Regions from separate parts of the Homo sapiens genome. Here all the other regions are linked to region 1. The links are contacts of gene promoters, found by promoter capture Hi-C in blood cells and fetal thymus (Javierre and others, 2016). All regions are on one chromosome and are shown on one strand. The core of a region is centred on a gene start or on the middle of the fragment in contact, and the rest is flanking DNA. Distances in the headings are between cores, read along the strand shown. Region 1 holds the start of ADH5 (alcohol dehydrogenase 5 (class III), chi polypeptide). Region 2 overlaps BMPR1B (bone morphogenetic protein receptor type 1B). Region 3 overlaps CENPE (centromere protein E).

Region 1 (3,024 bases), core at 336-2,835:
GCGAAACCCCGTCTCTACTAAAAATACAAAAATACCGAGCATGGTGACGGGCGCCGGTAATCCCAGCTACTCGGGAGGCTGAGACAGGAGAATCGCTTGAACCCGGGAGGCAAAGGTTGCAGTGACCCAAGATCGCGCTATCGCACTCCAGCCTGGGAAACAAAGAGCGAAACTCCGTCTGAACTGGCGGGGGAGGGGGGGGGGAGGGAAATGGCCTCTGTAAATTGGTGAGGTTGGAAATGTGGAAATGATCGTTTTTAAAATTAAATTGCAGATATTAAATCTCATAGTACAAAGAATCAGACACTGCATTAGAACCTTTTTCATTTCAATGTGCCATAAATTTCAACTCCACAAGTCAGATTCAGAATACTAACAATTAAGTTATGCAACATAGGAATCCAAAGAAACAAGAATACTAAATTTGATGGCCTGCTCCCCTTTAAAAAATGTCTTAATGGAGCCTAACCTTTTCCTTTTACTGACAATTCTAAGCAAAACAAAGCCCCACTCTAAATCCGCGGGAAATGGCCCTACTTCAACATTTGAACTATAGTAACAATTATAATCTTTCACCTTCTCTGAATAAAGACACTCAGTAATAAGGAAAAGCAACTACCAGTTTAAGTCTGAAAGACTGTTTAGAGTTTATTTCTTTCAAACTCCAATATGTTTAAGGCCATTTGTCTTACTAGAAAATGTCCAAAATTGCAAAACATTAAAATAATCAGCAACTTTAGACTGAGTATGTTATTCGTAATTTCTGCCTTTCTTTACTGTCTAATTTGTATTTTATGAATTTGTCATAGAGGAGCAGACCTGGGTCGGAATCCCAGCTCGCCATCGTTGGTGTGACCAAGCACAACCAACCTCAAACCTCAGTTTTTGGTAAGATGGGGATAACACCTCGCAGAGGTGTTTGTTACGTGAGGACTAGAGGGAATATAAATCTCTTGGTATTTAAGTGCTCGAAAATGTTTCTGAAAGGGACGTAGGGGTCTTTCCAAAATACACTCCTTGGAGGCACAATAATTAAGGCGTAGGCTCAATTATGCAACACAAGCAACCTAGGAGTTAGAAGCACGGGATCTGGCTGCAGCTCTGCCAAGTATGCAAGCTGCAAGAATGACCCAGAGCGAGTTACTTAATTTCGTGTAAGAAGCAATGCGTGGCCGCTCCTAAGCCATTTCCACTGGGATACCGACCTGACCAGCCCCTGCCCCCCACTCTCCGGCTCTCCCACCCCCCCACCCCGTTCCGACTGTCCCAGAAGCAGCAAAGAAAGCTGCTTCCCAACTGAAGAGCCGAGACAAAGCTTCCTTCTCTTTCTGCCCCTCTGAGCCGCTCGCTGGGGGCCCAGTTTCAGAACCAAGAGCCAGATCCCGTCTTGGGCGCCGAGCCTCGCGCGCCCCCGAGGATAGCAGCCTAGTCCCATGCCATGCACTCCCTCCCTTGGACTCAGGGCCCTCCGCTCAACGGGCCCTACCTCGTTCGCCATGTTCACGGATTCTGGTCGGCGCGGGGGGCTGACATCCGGGGTGGGCCGCGCAGCGACGGAGGCATGGGCGTGGCGAGCGCCTAGCGAGGGGGGCGGGGCGTGGGGGGGGCTTGCAATGGCTCCAACCGGAAGGGCGGTGCTCGAGCTGTGGTGCGTGCCGCTAAGTTGTGCGTTCCAGGGTGCACTCGCCGGCGAGGCTGCACGGCGCCGGTTTCATTGCTAAAATCCGACGGACTTGTTGCAGAACTCGTTTTTTTTGTCGGGAAAGGGCTTCCCCGTGTAACTTTACAGCAGTTATCGTAGATAAGACTTGCAAATTACAGATGTGGACGGTGAGGGAACGGGAATTTCACTGAAAGCGCCTGAGAACCAGTAAGAGACCTGCAACAGCTTTGTGCTCCACTGGCGAATGCTTCCTCCCCTAATACACATTATGTGTGCTTGGAGACACAAGGAGTAAGATACAGCCCCTCAAGGGACTCGTCATAGGGAGAGGACACAGCTTTGGGAATAAAGGGGCCACAAAGGAGGAGAGAGGAGTTTGCTGAAACTTCCCAAGCTCCCATTCCAGCAGTTCCTGAAGGGTAGGTAGGATTTTGGGGAGACAGTAGAACGTGGGCAGAGAACTTTGGAAGGAGGAGATGAGGAGAACAAAAAGTCTCCTGATCCTGGACAGTTTTTTGTGTTAAGAGTGGGCCAGAGTGTAGAGAGAGAGAATGTAGTATTTGTCGGTTTACTCTTTCTTTGTTTGTTTGAGACGGAGTCTCGCACTGTCGCCCAGGCTGGAGTGCAGTGGCGCGATCTCGGGTCACTGCAACCTCCGCCTCCTAGGTTCAAGTGATTCTCGTGCCTCAGCCTCCTGAGTAGTTGGGATCACAGGCACACGCCACCACGCTGGCTCAATTTTGTATTTTTAGTAGAGATTGGGAGTGGGGGCAGGGGGTTGGTCTCACCATGTATGCCAGTCTGGTCTTGAACTCCTAACCTCAAGTGATTCACCCACCTCAGCCTCCCAAAGTGCTGGGATTACGGGCATGAGCCACCGCACCTGGCCTGCCAGTTTACTCTTAAACTCTGTTGTAAACGCTGAATTTTGTTAAAATAGCTCTGTCAGACACACTGCTCTTTTCTGTCTTTCAGTCTTTTTCTTGGCTCTTTTCCGGGTACATATGGTAAGATTGTCCAAAGTCTTTCCGTCCTTTCACTCCACTCTCTCACTCACACTTTGGCTTTTAACGTCTATTTATGGAAAGATGACTACCAGATTATTATCTCCAATCAGGATGGCTCCCCTAAACTCCAGACTTGGACATGTAACTGCCTACTGGATTTCTGTCTCCATTAGGATATCTCACAATCGAATGCAACTCCTAAAACTCCTATTAATATTTTCTCCTTATAGGGACTCTTTCCTCTGTGTGTTGACACTCTCCACATACTTACCCTAGCCAGAAACATGAGAGTCACAACTTCTCCCTCTCCCTCGGTCCCTGCATTCAGTTTGTCACCAAGCCCTAAATATCTCT
Region 2 (2,976 bases), core at 5-2,504, 3.9 Mb before region 1:
ATTAAAAAATACAAACAATAGCCTAGTGTGTTGGTGCACACCTGTATTCCCACCTACTCGGGAGATTGATGCACGAGAATTGCTTGAACCCGGAAGGCGGAGGTTGCAATGAGCCAGGATCATGACACTGCACTCGACAGACCGAGACCCTGTCTTAAAACAAATAAACAAACAACAACAAAAACAAAAACACCTTTGGCTCATTGGTTTTGTGTCTGGTTACTAAAATGCTAAATAATATATACGTTTTCCAGCAAGCTGTGCAGAAAGCTTTATGAGATGCTGGAGCTCTGTTATTGTGGGCTTTTGGTGTTACTTGATATCTCTTCACTGAGGATTTCTTATGAAGTGAAATTGTACTTTTCAATAGGAAGACCAATAATTGATGTACCACAGGAGAAAGTTTTAGTGATGCTGTGCACAGGTCATTAATCTTGTTAAATGGTGCAGTGTGATGCTATTACTGCAGCAGACAGCTATGATTTAGGAATAACTGTGTTTGTTTGCATAGTATGGAATTAGATAAAAGATTAAAACTTATCAAGTGTTATAAACAATCTGGGAGTATTGAGTGGAATACAGACTCCCTGGGTATTTTTATGTTTGCTTAACACTAATTTCAAAGACACCTTTCTACAATCAGCAGAACCACCTGCTTGTTTCTATCACAAAGAAGACATGAACATCTGTTTTAGTCATATATAATTTTGCATGAAAAAAGCTTACAGAATTTTACTTCTACATGGTTTTAAGGGTACCTTTTAAAAATATATTCAAACTTAATGAACCTAAAACTAAAAAGCTACATTGTAACAGGTGCCAGCCTTGCAGATGATACATTTTTCTAACATTTCTCTTCCTCAGTGTCTAAGGCAGATGGGAAAACTCATGACAGAATGCTGGGCTCACAATCCTGCATCAAGGCTGACAGCCCTGCGGGTTAAGAAAACACTTGCCAAAATGTCAGAGTCCCAGGACATTAAACTCTGATAGGAGAGGAAAAGTAAGCATCTCTGCAGAAAGCCAACAGGTACTCTTCTGTTTGTGGGCAGAGCAAAAGACATCAAATAAGCATCCACAGTACAAGCCTTGAACATCGTCCTGCTTCCCAGTGGGTTCAGACCTCACCTCTCAGGGAGCGACCTGGGCAAAGACAGAGAAGCTCCCAGAAGGAGAGATTGATCCATGTCTGTTTGTAGGACGGAGAAACCGCTTGGGTAACTTGTTCAAGATATGATGCATGTTGCTTTCTAAGAAAGCCCTGTATTTTGTGATTGCCTTTTTTTTTTTTTAAGATGCTTTCATTTTGCCAAAATAAAACAGATAATGTGGATGGTTTAAGGGTTATAGTATTATAGTTTAAATAATAACAACAAAATTCTTCCCAGGAACTCTGCTGGAAGGTAAATTAAAATACTTGTTTTTCCATTGGTAAAATATTGTTGCACTCTGTGAACCAAAAGACAGTCTAAGTTGGAGGACATAGAACGGAACTCATCTTAAACATACTCCCCACCCCGTCTTGGCCTCCTCAGACCACTTTGGCCATCCCTGCATTTGGGGCCGCTATGGTAATGTGAATGCACTGGGTACAAACACCGCCTGTCTAGGACCACATTTGGAATTCCTGCAGGTGGCCTTTTGCAGCTTCAGGCAATATGGAACAAATGAAGGTTTATGTGACTCTAATAGAAGTAATTGTTGATAGGTGTTCTTCAGATCCACTTCTGTTTCTGATTGAGTTAGGCATCTCTTTCATGGTAAAACCCTTTTCATTAAACACAAAGAAAGCTTTTTTTTTTTTTTTTTTTTTTTTTTTTTTTTAATGTGCAGAGGATTGACCTGTGCATGCTTTTGATCTCTCATTCAAAGGATCAATATTAAATAAAATTGTCATGAGCTGTGTTGAAGACAGGGTGCTTTCAAATAGAGGTAATTTGCTCTTGTGTTGTAAGAGGAACATGTCAACAAAGATAGGAAATGAGGGTGATCGTGCAGATGGCTTGTATCTTATATATGCAAAGGAGCCAATCTCAGAAGCACAAAGAAAAAAGTGTGCATACCTTATTTTGTACAGATAAAGATGATGTCTTTTTGTTATTGTCTGTCTGTTTTGTATGTGTCTGAGATAAGGGATAGAGAGGAAACATCCGTCAGGCTAATTTAACTACATTTTATTTTAAAAATAGAGAAACATAACCTCTAGATGGGACAGCAGAGGACAGTTAGTAGAGGCCACAAACTGTTATGGGCTGCTGTGTTTTGTTCTAAAATCAATATGGTTGGAGCATGTATATCTTAGGTGATCATTTCACATCTTAGGAATGCCTACTCATTTTATTTTATTCTAGTGATGCTCAATTCACTATTTAATTTATTATATTTTCTCTTCTGTGGCACTTATACAAAATATCTCTTCACCTACTTAGTTCTACAGGGTTTTAACTTTGGAGCAACATGAATAAAATCATCGAGAAGGCCAATATTGTTTAGCAACATGAATACAATACAGTTTAAAGTTGTACACATCCTGCTCAACTTTATTCATATACATTTCCTTTCTGTGGTTTTCTTTTGCTTCTTAGAAATTCTGTTAGTGGTTAGTAAAGAATTTGAAAGTACTTTCTCCTTGCTGTTTTTTTTTTTTTTTAAGACATTCCTCCCAGAATACTCCAGGGGGCAGTGTTTTATAACACATTTTCCCCACTGGGTGATTGAAGGATGGAGGATTTTTGAAAATTTGACAGCTACATGAAACATGAGAAAACATTTTCCTCACTTCTGAAGTCGGTTTGCAGCTGGTAACTTGTTCATCCAGAAAACATTCTAAAGCAATGAGACTTTGTGAGCTGTGCTTACAGTTTGGGAGAATCATGAAGATTCTTTCTATATTTTGCATTTACTTCCCAGTGCTTCATAGCTGCATTTTGTTTGTAACTAAGACAGAAGAATTTCGTAATCCTTGAAATTGAAAAA
Region 3 (2,976 bases), core at 357-2,856, 4.1 Mb after region 1:
CTGATGTATATACAACTTCTTCTGTGAGATCAGCAACATACACATTCCTCTGAAACAAGTTTAATTATGGAAAGATTAGAGAAATAGAAGTCACAAGTTTGCTTTTCAAAAGAAGGTGCAAACTATTATAGAATTCATTTGTGAAAGTTAAAAGTGGCAAATGGAACCATAATTCTGTAGGAATGTAACAAATAATTCTATGAATACCCACAATTTATTTCACATACCAAAGCACAACAAATTCTAACCTGATACTTCCAACTTGCTATTTTTACACTTAAACCAAAATATTAGAGCTGTCAGTATTTTAAAACTATTCATATTGTTTAAAAGATGAATATAAATACTTCAAAAAAACCCTCACATACTATAGAAATAGGAGACACTTTAAAAACTATAGAAATTAAAGGTAAACATTCAAGAACAATAATCTCAATAAGTCAGTCAATTTTAAAGCTCCCTTAAGTCTGCTACTCACATTGACATCTTCTCGAATAATTAAAGGTTTCATTTTTTGAGTGCCACAGAGTAAATCTGTAATGGTTTCATTGTATATTTCCATGTAAGATACACGTAAGAGAAATTCCCTATCAGGAAACTAGAAGAAAAAAAATTATATAAAAACACCAGGAAGCATCCAATTGTGAAAACCTAATGCTAAATGCTCATGTGCTTAAAGAGGTAAAATGTATGTAAAACAAACTAAGAAACCCCTTGGTTCTACTGTTGACAAAATAATGAACACAAAAATATAAAAGCATCGTTACAGAAATAATGAAAAGTGAAGTACCATAAAGCTGGGAGAACACCAACTCTAGGCTCAAACTCTAGGCTCAAAATAAAACCCTCTCAAAAGATGTTCTTATTTTAATAAAAATGCTAATTTGAAACCAACTAACTCGGTTGCCTATTCTGGCTTTCTGCTTCCCTTCTTTTTTTACCTACATCCACTTTCTACTGTTCCTTTATAATCACTGATAGTTAAATGGTTAGGTGGAGCTAACCATTCTGATAACATTTTCTTGTTCCTTAATGCCTACTTTTTGTTGAGAGTATTATTGTTGCAGAATTCAAGAGAAAGAATAAAAGAACTTTAAGCTTTATAAAGTAAGTTGTGGAGATAAAAGTGAATCTATGCTATGCCTTTCTTCTTTCCCCATGGATAATCAAACAATAACTGTAAATCTACTTCCTTTCATCTTTACAAGAGAAATACACTAAGACTGGTACCCAGTTTTTACTAGTTTTACCTGTACGTACTAGAAATCCAGTTAAGTTACTTACCTTCTTAATTTTTTGGAAAATGTCATGAATTGCCCTGGGTATAACTCCCAAATGATCTTCTGAACCCATCATGGTATATGTTTTTCCTGAAGCAGTCTGTCCATAGGCAAATATAGTACCTGCAAAAAACAAAACACACATACGCAAAGATTAAAAACAAACCTATAATGGGTAAAACTATGCATGCTTGTTGCACAGACGCCCAAGACTAAAATGTTTCTGCAGCATTGAGTGAATACAAACCATTGTAGCCTTGTATGGCAGAATCGATGATTGGTGCTGCTATTTCTTCATACACATTTTTGGTAGTTTCATTACCATGAAAGACACGATCTAAACAACAACAACAACAACAACAACACAGAAGTTAAATCAAATGAGTCCACTGTGTTTTCATTCCAAATTAGTAATTATTCCCAAAAGTAAAACTGTCAGAATGTAGGATGATCAACTATTTAAGACACAGTATTTTTTTCAACTTTTTGGTTCTCTGAAAATACCCTTCCCTAAGGTAAAATGAGTTCATTTTCACACACAAAAAATACACTACAAGTCAACTTTTCTATGTTCTTTCAAGAGGCAATAAGGTATAGTGTTTGCACATGGGGGTCTGGAATCTACCTAGATGCAAATTAGATAACTGTGATTATAACTGTTTTAAATGCCAATTGGTTACCTTACTTAAATACATGATGGATAAACAATTTTGTTTCCAGTGAAGCAGTTTATAGAAGGCTTAGTCTAATCTTTAGTGACAAATCTAATATTATTGATAAGCCTTTTGTACTTTTAATAGCAAAAGGATAACAAGGTAACTTTTGATGCTATTATAAGCTTACCAAAATTGAAGGATTTACTTCCATCAACTTGATAAATGACATTATTGTCAGTTTTCCAGTAAACTTGGGCAGTTTCTCCAAGTGATTCTTCTCTAAAAGAATAAAAACACCGCATTTTAACCAGTCATAAAAGTCATGTCATAGGAGGAATAATTGAAAAGATTTCACCTGCTAAAGAATATTTTGAAAGATAGTAACATAAGAGAATGACAGAAAGTCCATCTTTGAGGATTCAACTCTTAAATGGAGCTTCAGTGACCTTCTGCCGCCTCAAAAGTGTTTTCTTGTGAAGGCTTTCATTCTCACCCTCTCCCCCAGTACTGGTAAACAAAGGGATGGATTCAAAATGCAACTCTGATTATGTCTGTCTTGCTTAAAATTCTTAAAACCTTTTGGAAACTTATGAAATCCTCAGCAGGGCACGAGTCCTAGATCATGTCATTTCTCTCTTCCATTTTCCTCTGAATTCCTAGATACATCCTAAGCTCTACCTGAAGGTCTTCCCCAAATGACAGATGTAACCTCTCTGTGCCTGGAATACTCTGACTTCCCTTTCCATTAAGTAACATAGGGATTATTTCACTCATGAAAAGCGTCAAGACTTTTCTGACACCAGTTCACCCCACGGGAAGCTTTCGTCTCTGATGGGCTAATAACTCCTCTAGCAAACATTCTCTACCTGCCCATCATAACACTTGTCAAAAGGTATCCTAATGGTTTCTTTATGTAGCCGTTTAAGGCATTAGATAATGAGCTCCTCAAAAATAGGAAATTCCTGATCTTGGTATTTGCATTTATTAAACCCCGTGTTCAATAAAAATTTCTCACACACACAAAGTGTTAGCATTTCGGG

The links. Contacts are between HindIII fragments. The CHiCAGO score rates a contact against its expected background, and 5 or more counts as called.
Region 2: a fragment that was not itself captured here is called in contact with the fragment with the promoter of ADH5 in region 1 in 1 of 17 cell types (fetal thymus); the score reaches 10.1 in fetal thymus.
Region 3: a fragment that was not itself captured here is called in contact with the fragment with the promoter of ADH5 in region 1 in 1 of 17 cell types (fetal thymus); the score reaches 5.2 in fetal thymus.

What each region holds. Positions count from the first base shown.
Region 1 is chr4:99,087,203-99,090,226 of GRCh38, forward strand. ADH5 (alcohol dehydrogenase 5 (class III), chi polypeptide) reads right to left here and starts at 1,586. Exons shown (of 9, transcript NM_000671.4): 1 at 1,487-1,586. The coding sequence starts at 1,498. LOC100507053 (a long non-coding RNA gene) reads left to right here and starts at 1,655. Exons shown (of 10, transcript NR_037884.1): 1 at 1,655-2,082. RefSeq lists a promoter at 1,531-2,784 and a silencer at 1,569-1,618. The HindIII fragment of the contact is 7,789 bases long and covers 1,314-3,024 here.
Region 2 is chr4:95,153,684-95,156,659 of GRCh38, forward strand. It overlaps BMPR1B (bone morphogenetic protein receptor type 1B), which reads left to right. Exons shown (of 13, transcript NM_001203.3): 13 at 865-2,976. The coding sequence ends at 990. Among named protein-coding and RNA genes, the nearest start is that of UNC5C, 390 kb to the right of the region's middle. The HindIII fragment of the contact is 1,070 bases long and covers 720-1,789 here.
Region 3 is chr4:103,194,636-103,197,611 of GRCh38, forward strand. CENPE (centromere protein E) reads right to left here. Exons shown (of 49, transcript NM_001813.3): 2 at 2,124-2,215; 3 at 1,528-1,617; 4 at 1,285-1,403; 5 at 479-598; 6 at 1-49. Among named protein-coding and RNA genes, the nearest start is that of CENPE, 2.2 kb to the right of the region's middle. The HindIII fragment of the contact is 1,020 bases long and covers 1,097-2,116 here.